Linked DNA regions of Homo sapiens: region 1 is linked to region 2. The links are contacts of gene promoters, found by promoter capture Hi-C in blood cells and fetal thymus (Javierre and others, 2016). All regions are on one chromosome and are shown on one strand. The core of a region is centred on a gene start or on the middle of the fragment in contact, and the rest is flanking DNA. Distances in the headings are between cores, read along the strand shown. Region 1 holds the start of UBXN1 (UBX domain protein 1). Region 2 holds the start of SCGB1A1 (secretoglobin family 1A member 1).

Region 1 (6,484 bases), core at 2,128-4,627, 260 kb before region 2:
GCAATAAAGCCAGACCTTGTCTCAGAAAAAAACCCATCTTTCCTTTTTTTTTTTTTTTTTTTTTTTTGAGACGGCCTCTTACTCTGTCACCAGGCTGGAGTGCAATGGCACAATCTTGGCTCACTGCAACCTCCGCCTCCCAGGTTCAAGTGATTCTCCTGCCTCAGCCTCTCAAGTATCTGGGATTACAGGTGTGTGCCACCACGCCTGGCTAATTTTTTGTATTTTTAGTAGAGAAGGGGTTTCACCGTGTTAGCCAGGATGGTCTCGAACTCCTGACCTCATGATCTGCCCGCCTCAGCCTCCCAAAGTGCTAGGATTACAGGCGTGAGCCACCGTGCCTGGCCAAAAAAAAAACATCTTTCTGAGTCTGTTTTTTGTTTTTTTATTTTTTTTTCTTGAGACAGAGTTTCACTCTTGTTGCCCAGGCTGGAGTGTAATGGCACGATCTCGGGTCACTGTAATCTCCGCCTCCTCGGTTCAAGCAATTCTCCTGCCTCAGCCTCCTGAGTAGCTGAGATTACAGGAGCCTGCAACTATGCCCGGCTAATTTTTATGTTTTTTTAAGCAGAGATAGGGTTTCACCATGTTGGCCAGGCTGGACTCGAACTCCTGACCTCAGGTAATCCACCCGCCTTGGCCTCCCAAAGTGCTAGGATTATAGGTGTGAGCCACCATGCCTGGCCTTGAGTCTGTTTTTTTGTGACTAAAAATAGCTTCTACATCATAGGGATTGTTGTGATGATTAAATATGGATTAATCATACAAAATTCTCTAGCAGGCCGGGCACGGTGGCTCACGCCTGTAATCCCAGCACTTTGGGAGGCCGAGGCAGGTGGATCACCTGAGGTAACAAGTTCGAGATTAGCTTGGCCAACATGATGAAACCCCTTCTCTACTAAAAAATACAAAAATTAGCCCGATGTGGTGGCGGGTGCTTGTAATCCCAGCTACTCGGGAGGCTGAGGCATGAGAACAGCTTGAGCTTGGGAGGCAAAGGTTGCAGTGAGCCAAGATCCCACCACTGCACTCTAGCCTGGCAACAAAGTGAGACCCTGTCTCTCTCACACACACACACACACACACACACACACACACACACACACACACAAGTCTCTAGTGCATATATTATCAATATCAGTAACTGTTATTGTCATTATTACTCTACCTTCTAATAAACATTTAAAGTGAGCTTCACTTTCAGGAATCTAACAGCCCGGGTAGTGGTGGAGCACAAAGTAATCAACAGTGACTCACAGCAGTGGGGATAAATGCTTAATGGGTTAAATACTGTAGCTGGAAGGCAGACAGCAGTGGTCAAAGCAGGCTTTTCTTAGAAGGCAAATCCTGAATCCTGAAAAACTCCTGGGAGTTAGTTTACTAAGTGAAGAGACAGGACATCCTAGGCGGAGACTGGTTGGTGCACAGGCCAAGAGGAGGGTGAAGTCTGGTTTGCAATATGCACAGCTTACCCTCAAGTGGTGGGTGATGAAACTGCACAATAACTACCAGCATTTACATACTCTGCCTTGCCAGGCACCAAAGTAGGTGCTATTGTGATCTCCACTTGAGAGGGGGTTCTAACCCCCCTCCCCGCAAAAAAAGCCAAGGTGGGCGCAGAAGGAAGTCAGACCACTAGCATTTAAGTTGTCCCAGATGGCCGAGTATGTAGCTCACGCCTTTAATCTTAGCACTTTGGGAGGGCGAGGCAGGTGGATCACTTGAGCTCAGGGGTTGGAGACCAGCCTGGCCAATATGGCGAAACCCCGTCTCTACAAAAAATAGAAAAATTAGGCCGGGCGCGGTGGCTCACACCTGTAATCCCAGCACTCTGGGAGGCCAAGGTGGGTGGATCATGAGGTCAGGAGTTCAAGACCAGCCTGGTGAAGATGGTGAAACCCCGTCACTACTAAAACTACAAAAATTAGCCAGGCGCGGTGGCAGCCACCTATAATCCCAGCTACTCGGGCAGGAGAATCGCTTAAACCCGGGGCAGGCAGAGGTTGCAGTGAGCTGAGATTGTGCCACTGCACTCCAGCCTGGGTTACAGAGTGAGATTTTGTCTAAAAAAAAAAAAAAAAAAAAAAAAAAAAGGAGAGAGAGAGAGAAAAGAAAAAGAAAAATTAGCCGGGTGTGGTGGCATGTGCCTGTAGTCCCAGCTACTTGGGAGGCTGAAGTGGGAGGATCGCTTGAGCCCAGGAGGCTGAGGTTGCAGTATGTCAAGATTGCACCACTGCACTCCAGCCTGGGCGACAGAGCCAGATCCTGTCTCAAAAACAAAAATAGCTGGGTGTGGTGGCTCACGCCTGTAATCCCAGCACTTTGGGAGGCCGAGGTGGGTGAATCACCTAAGGTCAGGAGTTCGAGAACAGCCTGACCAATATGGAGAAACCTCATCTCTACTAAAAATACAAAAATGGCTAGGCTCGTTGGCTCACGCTTGTAATCCCAGCACTTTGGGAGGCCGAGGCAGGTGGATCATATGAGGTCAGGAGTTCAAGACCAGCCTGACCAACATGATGAAACCCTGTCTCTACTAAATATACAAAAATTAGCCGGGCATGGTGGCGTGGGACTGTAATCCCAGCTACTCAGGAGGCTGTGGCAGGAGAATCGCATGCACCCAGGAGGCGGAGGTTGCAGTGAGCCGAGACCGCGCCACTGCACTCCAGCCTGGGCGACAGAGCGAGACTCCCTCTTAAAAAAAAAAAAAAAAAAAAAAAAAGCTGGGCATGGTGGTGGGCGCCTGTTATCTCAGCTATCCGGGAGGCTGAGGCAGGAGAAATGCTTGACCCGGGAAGCGGAGGCTGCAGTGAGCAGAGATCGCGCCACTGCACTATTGCACTCCAGTCTGGGCAACAAGAGTGAAACTCCATCTCAAAAATAAAAAATAAAAAAAAAAGTAAGTTGTCCTAGATGGTGGAAGTGTCACGGATTTTTAAGCAGGGAGGTGAAGACAGGACTACATGATTGTGTTTTGCAAAAATCCCTTTGGCAGTCAGGCAGAGGATGGCTCAATTCCCTAAGGAGAATGAGTGGGCCAAAGAGCAAGACATTTCTTCTGCTCCTGGCAAACATTGCCAAAGAACTTCCCAAAGCATTGCGCTAAGGGACCATATTCCTTCTAATTTCTAAGGAGGGTGAGGCAGGATGAAGTTCCGGGAACTGGCTTCATTCCGCCCACGGGTTTCAGAGCCGCACCAGCTTTCTTCCCCACAGCAGCCTGGCGCCTTGGCTTGGTGGGTTGCCTCCCTGTTCCCACCCACGGAAAGTCCTGGCAGCAGGGCCAGAAGTTTTATGGTTCTCAGCGGCACCCGTCGACATCCGCCCCCACGTGACCCAAACAGATCCGGCACTTCCGCTTCCCCTCGGCTTTCTTCTCGTCGGTGTTCCCGGCTGCTATAGAGCCGGGTGAGAGAGCGAGCGCCCGTCGGCGGGTGTCGAGGGCGGGTTGCCTCGCGCTGACCCTTCCCGCCCTCCTTCTCGTCACACACCAGGTCCCCGCGGAAGCCGCGGTGTCGGCGCCATGGCGGAGCTGACGGCTCTTGAGAGTCTCATCGAGATGGGCTTCCCCAGGGGACGCGCGTAAGGGAGTTCCCCAACCCCGGCCTGCGGGTGTGGGGGGTCGCGGACCTGTCTCGGCCTTTGCCCCAGCCTGACCGTCACCATGGCTCGTGGGCGCTATTCATGGTGTTTCTGCCCCCAGGGAGAAGGCTCTGGCCCTCACAGGGAACCAGGGCATCGAGGCTGCGATGGACTGGTAAGCGCTCGTCCCGGGTGGCGGAGAATTGGGGGCTGGCGGGAGGGGCAGCCTCAAAGCTAACCTCCCCGCCCACTTTCCCTGCCAGGCTGATGGAGCACGAAGACGACCCCGATGTGGACGAGCCTTTAGAGACTCCCCTTGGACATATCCTGGGACGGGAGCCCACTTCCTCAGAGCAAGGCGGCCTTGAAGGTCCTGACTGAGGGTCCACGGTGTGATTATTCAGGAGGGTCCGAGGAGAATCTGAAGGGATAATAATACCGATTGTTTGTTTGTAGGATCTGGTTCTGCTGCCGGAGAAGGCAAACCCGCTTTGAGTGAAGAGGAAAGACAGGAACAAACTAAGAGGTACAGTAACAACAATCTCACGTGTCTGAGGGTCGTCTTCCATCTCTCCCCAGTACACGTCTGGTCAAAGAACCTTGACCTTTCCACATTTCCTCTTTCTTGGCATTTTCTTTTCCTTTAATCTACTTTGGGATATATGTCGCCTAATTTTGTTTATTGTAAACTTTACACCTTCCCACTCTGTCCATTTCTCTTGAACTGTTTTCCCTCGGCAACACAGGATGTTGGAGCTGGTGGCCCAGAAGCAGCGGGAGCGTGAAGAAAGAGAGGAACGGGAGGCATTGGAACGGGAACGGCAGCGCAGGAGACAAGGGCAAGAGTTGTCAGCAGCACGACAGCGGCTACAGGAAGATGAGATGCGCCGGGCTGCTGAGGAGAGGCGGAGGGAAAAGGCCGAGGAGTTAGCAGCCAGGTCTGGGCAGGGGAAATGATGGATAGCAGATGAGAAAGAAATCAAGATTTGCTTTGTTGATGTCTGACCTAATTTCTTCTTGTCTACATTTCAGACAAAGAGTTAGAGAAAAGATCGAGAGGGACAAAGCAGAGAGAGCCAAGAAGGTAGGTGACTGAGAAGACGCCACGGGTAATGGAGTGGGCAGGTTAGTAAATCTTTTCCAGCTTCAGAGGGAAAGCATGGGCTTATATGATCTGTTTCACCTGAGGATGGGTGAGTACCTGATTGACTGTTTTACTTTGCCCTTTAGTATGGTGGCAGTGTGGGCTCTCAGCCACCCCCAGTGGCACCAGAGCCAGGTCCTGTTCCCTCTTCTCCCAGCCAGGAGCCTCCCACCAAGCGGGAGTATGACCAGTGTCGCATACAGGTACTGATTCTAATTCTTATCTTCCTCTTGGGACCCCTTTGTTCCGTGTTAAGGTGCCCAGCTCAGAGCTTTTTTCAGTTAACGTGCCCTTTGCCAAATCTCTCCCTTCTTTGTAAATGACTTTTGAAATCCTATCTCTACTCTTGGGAAAGGTATCAAATTTCACCTGCCCCAGTTGTATTTAAACCCATACCTCTCTCTTACTCAGCAGTTACCCTTTTACTTGTTCATGTTTTTATTTGGTTTATTATGTAGCTATCTGGTGATGTGGTATTTATCCAGATTCTTTTGTATAATCTTATCCTTGTCTTTCTTAGGTTGTGAGGGAGCTGGGAGTCTCTCATCCGCACTTAGTAAAGCGGAGCCTAAGTGGCTGTTCATTTGGTGCTTTAAATAGTAGTTGTGCTGGTTCAATCTAAGAAGAAGGGGGCCCAGCTTTAGCTCTTTTCCTTACTTGGGCACCTCATTCAGTTTTGATGCCCACAATACTGAGTATCTCCCTTGCCCTTTAGGTCAGGCTGCCAGATGGGACCTCACTGACCCAGACGTTCCGGGCCCGGGAACAGCTGGCAGCTGTGAGGCTCTATGTGGAGCTCCACCGTGGGGAGGAACTAGGTGGGGGCCAGGACCCTGTGCAATTGCTCAGTGGCTTCCCCAGACGGGCCTTCTCAGAAGCTGACATGGAGCGGCCTCTGCAGGAGCTGGGTATGGCTGCAAGACTAGAAACCAGGACTAGAAACTGGGGGAGTAGGGAGGCATGCCTAGGAAAAGGAGGGATGCAAAGAGAAGGGGCTTTGTGAACATGGTGCAAGGCCAGGAATTTTGGGAGCAAAAACCAAGTATCCTTGTGGTTCAAGCCTGTTTTCTTCCATCTTCAGGACTCGTGCCTTCTGCTGTTCTCATTGTGGCCAAGAAATGTCCCAGCTGAGGGCCTTTGTCCCATTGTCCCTCTGTGACCCCTTCATCTTTGATAAAGCACTGACATCTCCTTCCTAATAAATAGACCCTGAGTTCTGTACATGCCTGACTCCTTCCTGAATGGCTGGGAGGGACAAAACTAAGGCAGAGGAAGAGGCTAAAACGGAACAGTAGACCCTCTTCCTCATCTTTAGTTTCCAACAAAGACACTTGTTTGTAATCTCTGGGTCTGATTAACTGCTGGGGAAGTTGCGGAGGAGAGGTGCTAAAAGGGGTGGAGAGTACATTGGATGGCACCTTTTACTCCTATGGTAAGACAGAAAATAAAAGCCCAGCTGCTGCTTTTTTATTTTTATTTTTGAGACGGAGTCTTGCACTGTTGCCTGGGCTAGAGTGCAGTGGCGCAATCTCAGCTCACTGCAACCTCTGCCTCCCAGGTTCAAGCGATTCTCCTGCCTCAGCCTCCCTAGTAGCTGGGATTACAGGCACCCACCACCACGCCCAGCTAATTTTTTCCATTTTTAGTAGAGACGGGGTTTTGCCATGTTGGCTAGGCTGGTCTCAAACTCCTGACCTTGTGATTCGCCTGCCTTGGCCTCCCAAAGTGCTGGGATTACAGGCATGAGCCACCACG
Region 2 (6,595 bases), core at 1,236-3,735:
AGCAAGCAAGCAAGCAAGCAAGCAAGAGAAAAGAAAAAGAAGAAAAGAAAAGAAAAGAAAAGAAGCCATTGAGATTGTACCAGCCAAACATGGGCCCCCGAACCTGGCCGGGAAGAGGTGTGCACATGTGCACAGCGGGCCCTGTGGCACACTCAGCTCATGGACAGAGCAGCCACTTGTACCACTTCATTCCCTTCAACACAGAGCTTCCAGACTCTGTTTTCTTCTCAGGTCCTTACAACCAGGAACATGGGGGAAAGTCACCATTTTCTACCCACTGCTTGCCTCCATCTTCCCAGTGAGTCTCAAATCCCTTTTCCTTGAATTCTCTGCCTTCTGAACAAATTTGCCTTCCCTCCTCTGACTCTAGGGCCTCACTAGAAATTGCCACTCCAAGTCAGACCCTCTCCAGAACTTAGGTCCTTGATGTGTAACTTACTGTGTCACCAGGCAAGTCACTCTGTGTTTCTGTAGCTCAGTTTTCTCATCTGTAAAATGGGAACAATATCCCTACTTCATTTTATTTTTTATTTTTTAAATTTTAATTTAATTTAAATTTTATTTTTATTTATTTATTTGTTTTCAGACGGAGTCTCGCTCTATTGCCCAGGCTGGAGTGCAGTGATGCCATCTCGGCTGACTGCAACCTCTGCCTCCCAGGTTCAAGTGATTCTCCTGCCTCGGCCTCCCAAGTAGCTGGGACTACAGGCATGCGCCACCATGCCTGGCTAATTTTTGTATTTTTAATAGAGACAAGGTTTCACCATGTTGGCCAGGTTGGTCCTGAACTCCTGACCTCAAGTGATCTACCCACCTCGGCCTCCCAAATTGCTGGGATTACAGGCGTGAGCCACCGTGCCTGGCCCAATATCCCTACTTCATAGGGTTGTTGTAAGAATAAAAAGAGAGGCCAGGCATGGTGGCTCACGCCTAATCCCAGCACTTTGGGAGGCCTAGGTGGGTGGATCACGAGGTCAAGAGATGGAGACCATCCTGGCCAACATGGTGAAACCCTGTCTCTACTAAAAATACAAAAATTAGCTGGGTGCAGTGGTGCGTGCCTGTAATCCCACCTACTTGGGAGGCTGAGGCAGGAGAATCGCTTGAACCCGGGAGGCGGAGGTTGCAGTGAGCTGAGATCGCGCCACTGCACTCCAGCCTGGCAACAGAGCGAGACTCTGTCTCAAAAAAAAAAAAAAAAAAGAATGAAAAGAGATATTATGTGAAAGGGTGACAGTGATTGGCACATTGTGTGAAGTAAGTGTTAAATATTGTATGCATGTGCACACAAATAGACAAATGCATCTCTGACCCACCCCTTAACATGTTGCAGTCCTATCTTGCTCAGCCACCCACCTCTGTACGCAGACAGCACTGAGATCTTCTAATTAATACACATTTCAGTCCAAAATGATGTCATTTTCTCTGAAAAACAAATAAACCTCTCTGCAAAATAGTTGTTCCTACTGCTTCTTGGTTTGGGTTTTCTAACTCCCCAGGGTCATAAAACTTATCTCCATGGGTGTTGTGAAGCTTTCCAAGTGAATTAATTGGAGTTTGTTTATTAAAAAATAACAACAGCATTTTCAGATGAGAATGGAAGAGGCTGACGCAGAGTGAAAAACAGAGTTAGATAACCCAGTTCCCCAAAGACGGGGGATCTTGGAGAGAGCTGTGATCCTTCTTTCCTTCCTTTCTCCCCCTCTCTCCGTCTCTCTTTCTGCCCCTCTTCCCCCCACAGTTCTTTTCCTTTTAGTGACAGCAGCAACTACTCAGAGACTCCTAATCCCTTTTGCAGAGGACGGAAATGTTTAGAAAACTTCACTCTGGGTTGGCAGTTCCCCAAAGGGAAGCTCTCTTTCTGGAATATTCCTCTGTGCCCAGAATGAGAGACCTTGTCTTGGGTTGGGTTTCTTTTGGGGTCACGAGTCCCTGCAGCTCCCCTTCCAGTGACTTCAGCTGCCAGCATGGAGTGGAGACCCCAGACTTGGAGGCTGCACCAAGGTCTCAGCATCTTGGAGTCTGTCCAGATCTGGGATGAGGGCCTCATTATTCCTATGCTGGATGTACTCATCTTTATGGGGTATTCTCCACTCCTCCCTCCAGGCTATTCCATTCCCTGGGATTCTGAGGGTTGTTGGATATAGAAGATGGGACCCTTTTTAGGCTTCCTTACAGCCTGGGGCTCTCTCCAAGTTTCCAAGATGAGCTTGCTCACCAGACCCAGTTTTCTGAGACTCAGCATGCCCAGGTCCTCCCAGCAGCTCCAGAGCAGGAATGGGCAGCTCACTCCTTCTTCTGAGCAGAACTGGGGGGTCCTGAGAGTTCCTAAGTCCAGGAGGGAGGGAAGGGTCTCTGAGCACTCACCGGAGCTGCAGCAGAGAGCCAGTGTGACCAGGGTGAGGGTGACAGCGAGTTTCATGGTGGAGGAGGGGGATGCTCTGGCCCGTCTCTGGTTCCGTCTCTGAGTCTGGTGGGCTAGTATGAGACATGCCCAGCAAGGTGCCTTTTATATGCTCTAGGCAGCAGCACCCAGATGGGGAAGGGCAGGGCAAGGGCTCTACATAAGATACTGCACTATTTACTTGGCATTGGCTTGGTGGGATAGGTAAATATTCCCTTTTCTCAACCCAGTTTCTGTCCCCACTGAAACTGAGCTCACACAATGGGCCACTTGGGGGTGGAGGGCCGAGCCCTGCCTGGAGGCAGTGAAGGGAACCCAAGTCAGAGGATGTGGAAACCCAGCTGCCTGTGTCACTCACTGAACCTGGGCACTGGGGCAGTCCAGATCAAGAGAAGCAATTGTGGAGCCCACCTGGAGAAACTGAGGCCCAAGTTCCCTCACAAGTGGCAGGGACAGGACTAGGACTAGGACTCAGGACCCTGACACTCCACTGGGCTCTTTCATAGGCTCCCCTCTGAGGAGGGCGACTGAACCTTAAGCCAGGAAAGACACATGGTTTGGAGCATTGCTGTGGTCAGACTTCGGGGGCCCCTGGATTGAAGCATGTTGAATAAAAGGGACCCTTCCAGAATTCCCATCAGAAACCTGAGCCCTGCCCCAGGCTGGGTCTGTTCCCACCCAGAAGTGCTCTCAAGTCCTGTGCTCCTGATGGCCCAATTGGTGGGACCTTCAGTCCTTATCTCACTTGACCTCCCAATGGCCTTGACACCTGTGACTGCTTCCTTCTCGAACCATTCTCTCTCTTGCGCTCCCACGCCTCAGTTCTTTCCTGTTTTCCTTCTTCTGGCCATTCCTTCTTGTTCTCTTTAGATGTTTATTCTTTACTGTTCTTAAGTGTTGATGGTTCCCAGGCTTTGGCCTTCTCCCCTTTCTTGCCTCCAGTTGCCATTTCCTGGTTCTTCTCCAAAGCCCGGGCCTCATAGCACCTAACCTGGCCTGGTCAAAATCCCCTGACTCGACCTCCCTGCCTCCCTGCTAGCTCTCCTCAGCCATCCTCTGAAAGGCCATCAGAATGATCTTCCTAAAACCCACTGGTCGTGTCCTTCTTCTTGAAACCCTTAAACTCTTCCTTTTGCCTAAAGAATAAAATTCAAGTGCAATTTACAAGGCCCTTGCCCACTGACCTTTGCCTACCATTTGAACTTCATTTCTCCTCTCCCCCACACAACGACTTAGCCCTCTCTTACTATTTGTGGATTCGAGAATGTTCCATGTTTTTTCATGCCTTTCTACCTATGCACAAGCTAAGCCTCATGCCTGAATACACATTTCCTGCCTTGTCCACTTCGCCAAATTCTATTCGTACTTCAAGACTCAATCAAATATTGATCCATTCATTCATCCAATAAATGCTGACCACCTATGATGTGCCAGATGTGGTGCTAGGAGTCGGGAACTGGGGTAGATAGACATGGAGAGGCATTGCGTGGCACTTCAAGAACTCCTCAAAAATAAATAAATAAATAAAAATAAATAAACAAATAAAAGGCCAGACAGGGTGGCTCATGCCTGTAATCCCAGGACTTTGGGAGGCTGAGGCAGGTGGATCACCTAAGGTCAGGAGTTTGAGACCAGCCTGGCTGACATGATGAAACCCCGTCTCTACTAAAAATACAAAAATTAGCTGGATGTGGTGGTGGGCACCTGTAATCCCAGCTACTTGGGAGGCTGAGGCAGGAGAATTGCTTGAATCTGGGAGTCATAGATTGCGGTGAGCTGAGATCACGCCATTGCACTCCAGCCTGGGCAACAAGAGCAAAACTCCGTCTCAGAAAAAAAAAAAAAAAAGAAGGACCCCATTGTGCCTGAGGGCTTCGAAAGGGTTGCTGTGCCTGCAAAGGGGGCATTCAGGGGCCAGAGCACACAAGGCCTCGTTCTAAGGCCTTTACACTCAGAGTGGGAAGCTCTTGAAGGTTTTAATCAGGGAGTGACATGGTCTGATATCCCTTTCCTGATGAACTGACCCTGACTTGGGCAGCTGGGGGAATGGGGTGTTATTTCCTGACACAGAGAAGACTTGGGAAAAATAGGGTTGGGGGTGAAAATAGGGAGTGAAGCCTTCCCCGACAGGTGGTTCTGATGGGTGGTGACTCTCCCCATGGGCCTCTCTTCCCCCTCTGCTTACAGGGCCCATTATACAATATTTTAACTTTGCAATTCTTATTTTCTTGTATGACTCCTTTACTTGACTGACCTCCTTTAGGGCTGAGGCCGCTGTAAGCCAAGGTACGCAACGCTTGCTAAACAGGAATCCCTGGAATGAATCCATGCATGAGGCCTTTGTGCCATGTGACAGTTGAAGGCTGTGGTGACCCCGGAACCGTCCCACTCCGAGACGCCTTAACACCGGTAAGAGCACACGTTCTAAACTAGCAACCAACAAAGACTTGTCAAGTACGTTATGGTGTGTCCTTACAATGAAACGCTGTGTGGCTGAAAACAGAGAAAGAAGATCTTCTGAGCTGATGGTGAAATGATCTCCAAGGCAGACTGCAAAGGGGGAAAAACAAGGCATGAATAGAGCAAAAAAGAACAAAGAGAAGGCTGGGCGCGGTGGCTCACGCCTGTAATCCCAGCACTTTGGGAGGCTGAGGCGGGTGGATCACAAGGTCAGATTGAGACCATCCTGGCCAACATAGTGAAACCCCGTCTCTACTAAAAAAATACAAAAAGCTGGGTATGGTGGCGCTTGCCTGTAATCCCAGCTACTCGGGAGGCTGAGGCACGAGAATCACTTGAGCCCAGGAGGCAGAGGTTGCAGTGAGCCGAGATCATGCCACTGCACCTCCAGCCTGGTGACAGAGCATGACTCCGTCTCAAAAAAAAGCAAAAAGAATCCACATATGCATTTGCTTGTATTTGCATAAAGCATCTCAGAAGTGCCTTCTTTCTTTTAAGTTTCCTTCTGTGTCCCATCATCTGGGCTCTTGAGGTTAGCCCATCTTGAGGATTTCAGGTGTCTGCATCCCTCCCCTCTTAGGGACTGTTGAAAGGTGTAGCCTGCCTGTAACCCCAGCACTTTGGGAGGCTGAGGAGGGCAGATCAACTGAGGTCGTCGAGAGTTTGAGACCAGCCTGGCCAACATGGTGAAACCCCCTCTCTACTAAAAATACAAAAATTAGCCGGGCGTGGTGGCAGGTGCTTGTAATCCCAGCTACTTGGGAGGCTGAGGCAGGAGAATCACTTGAGCCCAGGAGGTGGAGGTTGCAGTGAGCCGAGATCACACCATTGCACTCCAGCCTGGACAACAAGAGCGAAACTCCATCTCAAAAATAAATAAATAAATAAACAAACAAACAAACAAAAGAAAGCTGTGGCCAATGGAGCTGAAATGGGCAAGGAAGATGAGCTGGACCACTGGGGGCACCTAAAGCCCATCCAGTGCCGCCACTAGTGGATCCCTCTGTGGGCAGTGGCTGGTCTGGCCGGGGCAGCTGTGATGGCTGCAGGGGTCTTAGGCAGGAGTCACATCACCCATAGCCTCAGACTCTGCTCTCTACTTTCCACCTTCATGGTGCGAGGTCCTGGGGACAGGATAGCTGGCTCCTGGGTCTTTGAGGAACTTAACAGCTAGGAGGAGAGACAGAGATGGGTGCAACTGATGGGAATGCTCTGTGGGGAGATGGAGGAAGTCAGAGAAGGAAATGGTGCTCCGGGAGTTGAAAGGGGGCTGCCCCCAGGCTGGGCGTGGTGGCTCATGCCTGTAATCCCAGCACTTTGGGAGGCCAAGGCAGGCGGATCACCTGAGGTTGGGAGTTCGAGACCAGCCTGAACAACATGGAGAAACCCTGTCTGTACTAAAAATACAAAATTGGCTGGGCTTGTGGTGGTGCTTGCCTGTAATCCCAGCTACTTGGGAGGCTGAGGCAGAAGAATCGCTTGAACCTGGGAGGCAGAGGTTGCGGTGAGCCGAGATCGCGTCACTGCACTCCAGCCTGGGCAACAAGAGCGAAACTCCGTCTCAAAAAAAAAGGAAAAAAAAAAAAAAAAAAAGAAAGGGGGCTGCCCCAAGAAAGGTAGCTGGGCAGAGGGGAGAGGGCACGTGGAGGGCTGGCATTTGAGCTGGCCTCTGGTGGATGGGTGATGCTGGTGGTTGGGGTGAAGCGGGGGATGTGCCAGGAGGAGGAAGCC

What was found. Contacts are between HindIII fragments. The CHiCAGO score rates a contact against its expected background, and 5 or more counts as called.
Region 1: the fragment with the promoter of UBXN1 here is called in contact with the fragment with the promoter of SCGB1A1 in region 2 in 3 of 17 cell types (total CD8 T cells, total CD4 T cells and monocytes); the score reaches 6.2 in total CD8 T cells.

The regions. Positions count from the first base shown.
Region 1 is chr11:62,675,966-62,682,449 of GRCh38, reverse strand. UBXN1 (UBX domain protein 1) reads left to right here and starts at 3,377. Exons shown (of 9, transcript NM_001286077.2): 1 at 3,377-3,585; 2 at 3,707-3,760; 3 at 3,849-3,955; 4 at 4,042-4,111; 5 at 4,332-4,523; 6 at 4,618-4,669; 7 at 4,816-4,932; 8 at 5,445-5,637; 9 at 5,811-5,950. The coding sequence starts at 3,527. The coding sequence ends at 5,860. RefSeq lists an enhancer at 3,289-3,618. The HindIII fragment of the contact is 15,579 bases long and covers 1-6,484 here.
Region 2 is chr11:62,414,923-62,421,517 of GRCh38, reverse strand. It overlaps SCGB1A1 (secretoglobin family 1A member 1), which reads right to left and starts at 2,485. Exons shown (of 3, transcript NM_003357.5): 1 at 2,368-2,485. The coding sequence starts at 2,422. LOC102723765 (a long non-coding RNA gene) reads left to right here. Exons shown (of 4, transcript XR_007062699.1): 2 at 4,668-4,813. RefSeq lists a silencer at 3,167-3,461. The HindIII fragment of the contact is 29,364 bases long and covers 1,536-6,595 here.